2 separate regions of the Homo sapiens genome follow, and region 2 is linked to region 1. The links are contacts of gene promoters, found by promoter capture Hi-C in human tissues and cell types (Jung and others, 2019). All regions are on one chromosome and are shown on one strand. The core of a region is centred on a gene start or on the middle of the fragment in contact, and the rest is flanking DNA. Distances in the headings are between cores, read along the strand shown. Region 1 holds the start of CDC7 (cell division cycle 7). Region 2 overlaps BTBD8 (BTB domain containing 8).

What was found. Contacts are between HindIII fragments. The study calls those that stand out against the background at their distance.
Region 2: a contact is called between a fragment that was not itself captured here and the fragment with the promoter of CDC7 in region 1, in 1 of the 25 tissues and cell types used here (dorsolateral prefrontal cortex).

The regions. Positions count from the first base shown.
Region 1 is chr1:91,498,270-91,504,446 of GRCh38, reverse strand. CDC7 (cell division cycle 7) reads right to left here and starts at 3,596. Exons shown (of 12, transcript NM_003503.4): 1 at 3,499-3,596; 2 at 2,616-2,793. The coding sequence starts at 2,730. LOC105378856 (a long non-coding RNA gene) reads left to right here and starts at 3,599. Exons shown (of 3, transcript XR_947599.4): 1 at 3,599-5,932. RefSeq lists an enhancer at 2,755-2,954. The HindIII fragment of the contact is 7,471 bases long and covers 1,320-6,177 here.
Region 2 is chr1:92,170,159-92,176,335 of GRCh38, reverse strand. It overlaps BTBD8 (BTB domain containing 8), which reads right to left. Exons shown (of 18, transcript NM_001376131.1): 13 at 4,876-4,937. Among named protein-coding and RNA genes, the nearest start is that of C1orf146, 45 kb to the left of the region's middle. The HindIII fragment of the contact is 5,069 bases long and covers 826-5,894 here.

The sequences.
Region 1 (6,177 bases), core at 2,347-4,846:
GCATATAGTAGATACTTAAAAAAAAATAAAAGCTTACTGGCCAGGCATGGTGGCTCACACCTGTAATCCCAGTGCATTGGGAGGCCAAGATAGGAGGGGATCACTTGAGGCCAGGAGTTTGAGACCAGCCTGGGCAACATAGCAAGATCCTGTTTCTAAAAAAAATATTTAAAATTAGCTGAGTGTAGCGGCACATGCCTGTAATCCAAGCTACTCAGGAGGCTGAGGGGGTAGGATTGCTTGAGTGCAGGAGTTAAGGCTGCAGTGAGCTGTAATTGCACCACTGCACTCCAGTGACAGTGGTGTGACAGAGAGACCATGTCTCAAAAAAAAAAAAAAAAGCTTGCCAAAACAGTGAAAGAATAAACATTTGACCAATATTATGCCAGATAGTTTGTGCATTACAGCATTTTTCTTAATAGGAAAAAATAGAAACAATCTATAGGGTCAATAGTAAAAGGTGATTGAATATATTATAATATAATATGCAATGGACCTTAAATCCAGTTGTAGAATATTTACTACATGAGCAATATTCAAGATATATATTAAAAAAAATGGAGATCAGAAATAAGATCCCATATTCTGGTTCTCTTTTCAAAAACAAAAACAAAACAAGATCCCAATTTAGTTTCTAAAAAATGTACCTATGTATGCCTAGAAAGGCTAAAGGAATATAACAAAATGTCAACAGTGGCAATATTTCAATAATGGGAAAAGACTTTATTTTGGCTTTCTTTACTTCAAAAATTTCAATAATCATGTTTATCAGAAAAATGTTATAAAAATCTGACAAATATCTCAAAATAAAGAGACATGCTATTCATCCATTACACTAAGTATTTTACTTTATATCCTTACATTAAATCATTCATTCAAATATTTTCAAGCACCTACTATGTGCTGGACACTGTTAAGCTCTGGGAATGCTAAGATATATAAAACATCCAATCAAAAATATAACTTCAATAAGGAGTAAAGTTGATGAGGTGCAGGCATATACCTGTCTCATGATCTAATTTGATTTACTTTCCCAATTAGATTACTAGACTGTTATGTGCCTGGACCTCATCAGCTTTGCTCCCTATTGAAGTTATGTTTATATAACTTTAGCTGTTATTAAGATCATATTTAAAAAAGAACCATAAGAGTAAAGTTTTAGCACGTTTTATAATTTATCATATTATAATGTCCAATGTTCTGTTACATAAACGCTACAAAACTTTTGAAATCCGTAATAAAATTCACCCCATTCATTACTTCCCAGCAGATTTTCAGAATATTAGAATAGTGGCATTCTCCTAAACATGATGCTAGAACCAATTCAGAGTCATCCATTCAGATACTCTGCTGAAGTCACAACATACTTTAGAAACCAGAGGAGATACTGCCGCCAAGGGGTTTACAGTGGAGACAAAATGCAGAGTCCTAAGCAATAGAAAAAGAATACTACAATGACTGTGTTACTGTGTTATGTGTCCAGTGACTAGTAAGGGAAAGATGAACTAAAAAAACAGCTAACTGCTGGAAAAATGGAAAGGAAGAGGAACAGTATCCATGAAACTGGATGAAAGTGGCATTTTAAGATTATTCTAGCACCAACATACAAGATGAACTGAAGAATGGAAAAGTGCAAGCAGGCAGCATAGGTGAGAAACTGTTGTAAATCAGGAACAAAGTGTAAGGAAATTAATTAATGTGGTGGAAATGGGAATGGAAAGAAGACACAATGCCATACTTACTAAAAAGAAATAAAGCTAGGTGACGATATGGGGAACAAATAAAAAGCATCAGCTGAAGATTAAAGTTTCAAGTTTAGGTAAGTGGGATAACTGACTTCCATCAAAGCAGAAAGTATGTGATGTCATATTTTTCTAGGGTGGGGTTATAAAGAATATATGGACAAAAGGTCAAAATAAGTATCTTTTAGACAAGCACAGAATTCACTTAAGACAAAGATGGGAAAGATGATCTGGCTACCCTTTCAGAAAAAAAAAAATACAGTCAACTAGAATTCCTCTATTTAACAAATATTTATTATTAACAAATACCTACTATGTCCCAGGTCCTGTGCCAGAGCAGAAATGAAGGTACACATGCGAGTGTACAAGAGCAGGCACTGCTTGACCCTGTCTTATTCACCCTAAGGTCTGGTTTACGGTCAAAGAACATTTCATGCTGTACACTGAGATATGGTGCTTTATTATTGCTACAAACATTTCATATTTTTTTGTCTGTGAGTTCTGCTTTTGAATACTTAAGTGATGATCTCCAGTGTCAATTTCTACATTTAAGCTTAAGGCAATGTGGTGAGTAGAGATAAGAACACAGATACAAAAGAGAAATTTAATTTGGGCATCATCAAATTTCTGCATTCTTAATTACCAATACTGAGACCATAGCAACTTCAACCGTAAAACAGGTTGTATTACAGTCTTCCAAATCGCAATTCAGTCCTACATTTAGATCATACGAAGCTCTGTTTTAACACTGTCCTATAGAAACATACAATTCACTTTATAAGATTCAATCTTATTTTTTGAGAGGAATTGAAAACACAGAATTGTTGCCTGAAAAATCTTTATAACTGTACATCTTTGGATTTAAACACGTACCTGCAAGTTTAAAATTCTGCTCGTTTTTTTTTAAAGAGCCTTCAGCCTGAAACCGGTCACGCTGGGGAGAAAAAGCCATTGGCTCATCCATCTGAATCCCCAAAGACGCCTCCATCACAAGCCAATTGAGATGCAAAATGCCAGCTAAGGGGTTACATCCACAGGGGGAGCAAAGCAGCTGTGAAAATTAGAACACTAGAGAAATTTAGATCACTCGCTAAACCACGCACTAAAAACATGCTACTGCCCCCCAAAGGGGCAAACATTTTCAAACGCACGATGTGTCCAAACCTCCACAGTAGGGCATACTGTGGCCTTGTCTAAGGAATTCCATGTGCTTTATTTTCACCTATCAGAAACACCGGCAGGGGGCTGCAGGGAGAATTTCCCGGCTTGGGCACCCGCGCAGCAGCAGGCGCAGTGGGAAACGGCGAGGCTGCCAGTCCGGCACAGCCAGCGGGACCGCGTGGGGGAGGGGCCGAGCGCCGGGGGCGGTTTGAAGTCAGGAAAAGAACTGAGGGAGAAAACCTTTTCGCCACTGACAGGAAGCGCCAGGAGGCTCGTCCAAGGCCCCAAGCAAGTTGACGGAGAACTGATACGACCCTGGCCACGAGTACTGGGCGGAGGAGGAGAAGGGTGAATGAATGGGAATCCGCCGGCCAGCGCTGGCCGCGAGCTCAGCCGGGAAGGACCGGCTTCCCTCGGGCCAGAGACCGAACCAGATGCTTAGTGCGCAGGCGCGCGACTTTCCCGCCGCAGGTCGGAGGGATCCGAAGGGGGGCGGGAAAAGGAACTGCACGGCGAGAAAACCGAAGTCACGATCCAGAATTCGTTCCTAATCCCTCACAATCCCGCGCCATGGAACAAACCGTCGGAAACTCACGGTTTAAGGGAGTACGACTTCTGTGGCTCCCCAGATGCCTGGGTCGCCGTCTCCAAGAGATCCCCACCTACCGAGTCGATCGGATGCGCCTGCGCAACACTTCCCGCCGCCGCTCTGGTTGCACATGCGCACACTAAAGCCCTCGACCCCGCGGATTCCGCTACTGGGCGTTTGCGCAAGAGGGTGGGGTTTCTTCCCGCCGCCTTGGCCAGCTAGAAGAGCGGTTACGGGAATGAAGCCCGTGGATGATCTTAAAAAACAGGGTGAACCATAAGGCTAAGGGCCCAGCATGATTTCCAGGAAAGAAGCTAGCTCAGAGAAGGAAAAATCTCAGGTGCTGACACATCCCTATATACGTGGCCGGCCGCACAACACATTGGGCACTCCATGGATAAAAGGCACTTTCTTGACTCTGCTTTTATTTCCTTTTCGTTGAGTGCCCTACTTCCCCGTTAAAAACAAGCAGAAAATGTAATTGCTGATTGTTTGTGGCTGTGTTAGTAGAAATTAGCACAGTGGCAGGAAGGCAGTGTATACTATTTACTGAGCCCTTGGCTATGAGGTAGGTGGGTTTTTCTAGGGGCTGGAATCATAGTGAGCAAGATAAACACCATCCCTGTAGGAAGCTAAATTCCAATGAAGCGATGACAATAACGGATGAATAAATGAACAGTATTCTTTCCGGCATTGATTACTACTTGAGGGAAATACTGACCAGGAAGGTGGCATCTAGATGGTCAGGGAAGCCCTCTCAAAGAGACCTGGATGAGAAAGAGCTGGTAGGGAGACTGTTGTCCTGGCAAAGAAAGGATAGGGCAAATGCAGAGAGAAAGAGGAACTTGGTATGTTGCAGGGGCAGGGCAGGAAAGGCCAGTGTGGGGGAAGCATAGTGAGTGAGCCGCAAGATAGTCCCAGATAGATGAAGGTGGAGAGTTAGGCAGAAGCCAGACCAGGGTCCTTGAAAGCCAGGGTAAGAAGTTTAGTGTTTGTTCTGAGTACAATTGGAAGCTATTTGAAAGTTTTAAAGCAAGGGAGTAATATGATCTATCTGTTATGAAGAGAATGGATTGTAGAGGGGCAAGTGTGGAAGCAGAGGAAATAGGATGCACTTTATGTTTAGGAGAAACATAATGGTAGTTTGGACCAGAACAATGGCGGAAGAAATAAAAGAAAGAAGACAATGGGATTTGGTGATTGGCTATGGAAAATGAAGAAAAGGGCATCATCAACAGTGAATCTTAGGTTTTGGGCTAGCATATGTGTGGGTGGTAGTGCCACATAGAAGGGAAGTCTGTGAGGTAATGGTTTTTGATTGAGTGAGGTGGAAGAGAGTAAATCAAGGATTCTAGTGTGGATACCGAGAAAGAGAAAAGCAGACCTTGACATCCAGGAGATGGCCTGGTACTACCAGCTTGGTTTGCTGTTGCTTTGAGCTGGCCTGGCAATCACAGCCAAGCATTGGTATTCTTCTGTTGAACATAAACAATTTCACAGAACATCAGACAAGACAGAGTTGTGACCGTGATAGATCAAGACAAAAGTAAGATCACTCTATAATCATATGTGAACACAGACACAACATCAACATTGCCCAAGCCATAAAAATGATCAAATATCTCCTTATCCTAGCTAATATGAGTGCCTGCTGCTTCTTTACCAATTATAGTTTTAACCTCAGTCTAGTCTTCCTTCCTTCTACATAATACTTATTAAAATACCCAATTATAGAATTATCCTTGCTTCCTTACAGCTTCCAATCCAGGCCAAAGTCCCTCTTTCTTGCACCCTTCCGTAAATCTCCTAACACAAACTCAAATTCTATAACAAGTCCTTTTTAACACCCTCTTCCTAAGACATCCCATGGTTCCCCATGGTGTGCATTCTCACGTACTGAAACAAGCAATACATCCAAGTTGCTCAGCTATAGTTGTGTTCCTGGTGGTCATTATCGGGAGGTCGTTAACAATAATCAAGTCCAAGATATGCAAGTGATGATGTCAAAGAAACAGATGAATATATTGGTCTGGGGTATAGTTCAGGGTGAAGAAATAAACTTGGCAGTTATGAATTTATAGATGAAACCTAGTCTTGGACTATACGATATTATCTAAGCAAAGATTGTAGATGGAGAGTTGGGCTATGATAACTTCCAACATTTCATAGTTGAGCAGAGGAGGAGGAAGAACCAGCAAGAGACTGAGAAGTAGTAGTCTGTGAGGTAAGAAGGTGATGTCATAGAAGTCAAGAGCAGAAAGTTTTACAATTAGAAGAAAGTGGTCAGCTATAGCAAATGCTTCACAGAAGTAGTGAGGATACAGAATTGATCAGAGATAGTCATTAGAGCCTTCAGAAAGAGCAGCTTTGGAGTGAGACAGAAAGACTATATTGAATTTATTGACGAACAAAAGATCTACAAATGGAGACAACTCTTGAGGTTTGGTTTGTTTCTTAGTTTGGTTTCTTGTCTTTATTGGGGGGTAGGGCGCACAAATAGAATAGTGGCTACAGTGTCAAATTGTTTATAAACTTTATACTAGCCGTGTAACTTGGGCAAGTTATTCAATATCTGTGACACTCCTATTTCAAAAATGTAACATGGATAAAATACTTGCTTGGTTTTGCTATAGGGATTAAATTAGATAAAGTGACATAATACATGTAAAGTGCTTGGTCCCATAG
Region 2 (6,177 bases), core at 2,111-4,610, 670 kb before region 1:
CCCAGGTCTCAGGCTGATGAGGGATGGAATCAGGACTTGAGCTCATTTTTTAACCTCACACCGAAGTCATCTATATAGCATAATTTGAGGGACATTATAAAGATTTTCAATAAAAATTCTCTCTTCAACCTTATTCCAAGTGCCAGAAATTTTATCATTAAAGACTTAATCCTCTGTGGGAAGAATCCTTTACTTCTTGGAGTCCTTATTTAAAAAAATTTTTTTTTAAAAGCTCCTAGGAAGCACAGCACATCAATACACTACATCTGCAAAGCTTGGTTTTTGGACAAATAAGATACTAGTATAGCACTGGCTGGCTATAGGAAGCGAAGGAAAAGGGATCCTAAAAATAGCTGAAATAGGCTAAAAAGGGACAAATAAAATGGCACTGAAGATAAACATACCTACTTCATCATTTTCCTTAGAACCAACCTTGATATGAAAGGGAACAAAGAAAATTTTTAAGTTGGTAGAAATTCTAGGATAATATTTTAAGATCATATTGTCATTCTTTTTTTTCTTTCTTTTTTCTTTCTTTTTTGAGACAGAGTCTTGCTCTGTCACCCAGGCTGGAGTGCAGTGGCCCAGTCTTGGCTCACTGCAACTTCTGCCTCCTGGGTTCAAGCAATCTCCTGCCTCAGCCTCCTGAGTAGCTGGGACTATAGGCACATGCCACCACACTTGGCTAATTTTTTTGTATTTTAGTAGAGAGAGGGTTTCACCGTGTTGCCCAGGCTGATCTTGAACTCCTGAGCTCAGGCAATCCACCCGCCTCGGCCTCCCAAAGTGCTAGGATCACAGGCATGAGCCACTGTGCCCGGCCAATATTGTCATTCTTTTTTTTTTTTTTTTTTTTTTGAGATGGAGTCTTGCTCTGTTGCCAGGCTGGAGTACAGTGGCACGATTTCAGCTCACTGCAACCTCCGCCTCCCAGGTTCAAGCAATTCCCCTGCCTCAGCCTCCCGAGTAGCTGGGACTACAGGCATGCGCCACCATGCCCAGCTAATTTTTGTATTTTTAGTAGAGACGGGGTTTCACCATGTTGGCCAGGATGGTCTTGATCTCTTGACCTCGTGATCCACCCACCTCAGCCTCCTAAAGTGCTGGGATTACAGGTGTGAGCCACCGCGCCCGTCCTATTGTCATTCTTTATGTAAGTATGCAAACGGTTTTTTTTTTCCTTTGGAAGCTGTATGAGATTGTAGAGGTCTGAGGCAGAGCCTGTGCTCTCTTCATCTTTTGTATCCCTCGGCACCATGTCACATATTGGATACTCAAAAAACAAACAAACAAAAAACGTAATCAATGTTGTTAATGCTGGGCATATATTGCATATTTTGATATGCAGTTTAAGGTCTATTTTTAAATATGAAAAGCTTCCAATTACATTAAAAGCTGTCAAAGATAAAATAACATATATGAATGTGGGTGCACACAAAAAAATACACAATAAATAACTTGGTTAAATTTAGAAAAAAGGAAAGCACGGTGATAAAACAACCACTAGATTCTTGTCCTAGTTTTGCTTCTAACCAGCCTGGGACATTTCAGAAATTATTAACAGCTTTGGGTCTCAGCTTATGCCTGTCCACAGCGTAGAGACTGGTCCTATTCACAGCAGTCTTCTAGGATTCTAACATTTAAAACGTTCAGATAGGCTTGGTCCTCATTTTTTGTTTTCTTGCTCAAATCTTAGCTCAAAAAAAAAACATTTCTCTATTTTTAATACCTAAAACCAGGCTGACTTCTGCTTTTAGAACTCCTTCCCACCCTTAACACTGAATCTACTTAATTTATTCTATCCTTGAATTTATGCATCTTGAAGTATTACGCTATGGGTGAAATCTATATAGTATATGGTATAGCTGTATGCCTTGAAAAATTTCACAATAGGCCAGGTGCGGATTGCTTGAGCCCAGGAGTTTGAGACCAGCCTAGGCAACATGGCAAAACCCCGCCTCTACAAAAAAAAATACAAACATTAGCCAGGCATGGTAGCTTGGGCCTATGCCTGCTATTCAGGAAGCAGAGGTGGAAGGATCCCTTGAGCCCAGAAGGTCAGGGCTGCAGTGAGTTGTGATTGTGTCACTCCACTCCAGCCTGGGTGACAGAGTGAGACCCTGTCTCAAAAAATAGGAAAAATTAAACATAATCATAAGAGGACAGAAGAGTATAATGAATCCTCACGTACCTAATAGCCAGCTCTAAAAATTATTAATTCATTATTAATTCCAATTTTATTTCATACACACCCACCCCCATTTTATTTTGAAGCAAATCCCAGATATCATATATTTTATCCTTAAGTATTTTGGTACTAAGCATTCTTCTTAAATCGCTCTATGAAGGAAAAATGAAGCAGGCAACAACAACCACCACCACAACAAAACAAACAAACAAAAAACCTCTTTCCCTGTCTTATCTGATTAACTTTCTCCCACCTCCTAGATAGCTCATCCCTGTTTGGAAAACACATTTATTTGCTCCACATTTATTGAGCACTTACTACATACCAGATAATTGCACATAAATTATTTCACCTAATTTTCACAATAATCCTGCTAGGTTTTATTACTCCATTTTATAAATAAGCAAACTAAGACTCACAGATGACACATAATAAATGCAAAGCCAAAATTTGAACTCTTTTGATTTTGTGTCCAGCATCCATTTCAGCATATCACTGTCTTTCTGGGGGAAACTTCCTTCCTTCCCATTGTTCTTAACAGAAAAAAGACTTAGACAACCACAAAGTCAGGAGGATGAGGAAAAATAATGAAACTTTGTTCTATTCTGCAGTAAGGCAAGGAAGGCAGAAAAGCCTGGTGAGTAGCAGGGGATAGGAAGGCAAGTAGGCTAATTCCTGGGGGCCTTTAAAAAACACGGGGATAACAGGGAACACAGAAAAAAATGTCCTAGTGCACCATTTCCTAGAGTATGTTCTGTGGAATCGTATAATATGCTTTAAAAGGGTTGTCGGGACCCTAGTCGTATTCCATAGCTATAACATTGGGGAAAATTTTGGATGCAACAATTCAAAAGTATTCTTTAGTGTTTCTCAGCACTTTCAAGGTATAATATGCATCGTCGGTCTATAAAGAGTTGCTATGGGGTTGGGCGTGGTGGCTCACGCCTGCAATCCCAGGACTTTGGGAGGCCGAGGCGGGCAGATCACCTGAGGTCGGGAGTTCGAGACCAGCCTGAACAACATGGAGAAACCCCATCTCTACTAAAAATACAAAATTAGGCAGGCATGGTGGCACATTCCTGTAATCCCAGCTATTTGGGAGGCTGAGGGAGGAGAACTGCTTGAACCTGGGAGGCGGAGGTTGTGGTGAGCCGAGATCATGCCATTGCACTCCAGCCTGGGCAACAAGAGCGAAACTCCGTCTCAAAAAATAAAAAGAGGAGCTATGGTGTGTAGCTACTCTCCAACTTATAGTTGATGCTAGATGGAGCTCGTATCTTGTGAAACCCACTTTGGAAACAATCCTAAGAGGTTAATTGGCAAAAACTCCAGTCTCCCAGTTTCTCACTCAAGACATTTGGAGCTTGACCTCTTCCTCAAGCCATGACAACTCTCAGTTGTGGCTTGGAGCTGCATTAGTTCCTATCAACTGGCTGATGAGGAAGAAAAAAGGATTTCCTATTCCACTCTGCTAGGGCAATACGTTCATTGCATTCCAAACTGGAACTCTCAATGTATGTCTATCATTGTACCACACAGAGGTTAGAATAATTTTGTACTTTGAATATATTATTGGTTAAGTGAACATCTGTAAGTCAGCTAGGAACCCTAACCATAATTAATAACATTTTTGGGAAGACAAATTTATTTCAGGTTATAAGAAAAACACCAAATAACCTTGTGGGTGGTCAAAAACAAACAAACAACACACAAAACATGAAATCTACCATCTTAACCATTTAATACACTTAAGTACTCTTTAATACACTTCAGTAACAGTGTAGTAATGTTAGCTGCATGCACTTCGTTGCACAACAGAAAACTTTTCATCTTGCAAAATGGAAACTCTGTACTCATTGAACAACTCCCCCTTTCTCCCTCCCTCTAGTTTTCAGCAACCACAATACTACCTTCTAAGAATTCAACTACTTTAGATACCTCATAAAAGTATACCAAGTAACTTTTAAAGTAAAACACAGTTGTACTCTTAGTACTAATTGCTTTTTTCAAAAACACCAAAAATACATTATGTGAATTAAAATCTTTTTTTTTGTTTGAGATGGAGTTTCGCTCTTGTCACCCAGGCTGGAGTGCAATGGTGCAATCTCATCACACTGCAACCTCTGCCTCCCGGGTACAAGCAATTCTCCTCCCTCAGCCTCCCGAGTAGCTGGGATTACAGGTGTGCACCACCATGCCTGGCTAATTTTTGTGTATTTAGTAAAGATGGGGTTTCACCATGTTGGCCTGGCTGCTCTCGAACTCCTGACCTCAGGTGATCCATCCGCCTCGGCCTCCCAAAGTGCTGGGATTACAGGCGTGAGCCACCATGCCTAGCCTAAAATCTTCTTTTTTAAGAAGTAGGCTAATTAGAAAAACAGACATTGAATTAGGTCTAGAGTTCTAAACAACTTCTAATAGACTGAAATAGCTCTAATACGTTAGCTGCCAAAAAGGTTTTCAAGGAAATGAAAAAGGTAGATACTTCCAGTGCCAACTGGATATAAAAAATTCACTTTAAAACATTTATTAAATGTTCACTTGATTTAGAAAAAGAAAAATTTTCCATTAAGAAATAGCTTCAATTAATGAATAGATTTTTAAAACTTTTTCTGAAATATAAAATAATAAGCTTTAAATAATTTGTTATCTTTTTCATTTGTACCTATAAAATTTAGAAAGTTTACCTGCGAGCTACTGAATATAGGCTTTTTGCCAAGTCTTCGATCATCACCTTTGTCAAATGCAGCTGTAGAAAGAAACAGCAATTTGTTTTTATAAGGAACATTATTATTACCTTAGAAGTAAAGGAAAAATAGTATGTCAGTAGAAAAAAGGTTATATTTTGATGGAAATAACTTAATAAACCTGAAACCAATCTAGTATACAAAACAACTCCCTATTATATTTTAGAATTTTTTTAAAAGAACCTCATTTTCTATCTTATTCTCTGGCCCCTAGGTTTTATGTTATTAAAATTAATAAATAAGAACTGTACAATCTCACAGAGAAGATTCATACATTTAGAAAAACATGAGAATTTTCTCAAACTGTGACATTTTAGATAATTGGTTTCATTTAGTTCTCCAAATTACAAAAAATTACAGATTATAGCAAATGTAACATTCTACAAGCTATTAAATATGAGAAAATGTTTATACTAAATGTAAAAATACTCTTGAAATTAAAAATATTTTCTGGTTTTGCAGATATATAATGAGGAAGGAGGAAAGAGAAAATAAAAAAATAAGGTTCTACTGAAAATAAAATAAGAATCTTCAAAATATTCTTTTTATAATTAAATAAAAATTCATTTTATAAGTTAGGTTTATATGGGAATTTATTGCAGAACTCATGTCTATGCTCTTCAAATAAGAATTTGAATGTCAGGAAAATATGTAGGCTGGAATAATTATATGAGAGCTACAAATATAGTTTAGCAAATGTATTTCTTTTGAAGGTTACTGGGATTTAAGACATATTTTGAAGAAATATATACAATCTCTGAAAATTATTTGATTTTTATTAAATCAGCTAATAAAAAATACATTAAATTATCTGTAACTACCATGCATCTTCCATGATCTCTATTCTATAGGATATGTGCTATAAGACAAAGCAGGATCCTGAAAATGGCACTATAGGACTGATTTGCAGTAAGCAAATGACTCTGCACAATAATACACAGGAAGAAATTAAACTAAAAAATTTCTCCCAAAGGTCAGTAACTCAACTATGACATACGAAATGTAGTAACAGACAACCCAGAACCATTCCTTTATCTGGGTTTCCCAATGAAGTAATTATGCATAAGTCAGAACTCATTATAATTCAACTTATTTAAGATTAAAACATTATTATTACACTGATATAATGTAACAGAACGAAAAGTCCTTTTTGACAATTCAAAAAGGATTGTTGGATTAGCTGGATAGTTGGATTACCAATAACATTTTATTTAAATATGGGTATTTACATGTATTTTTAAT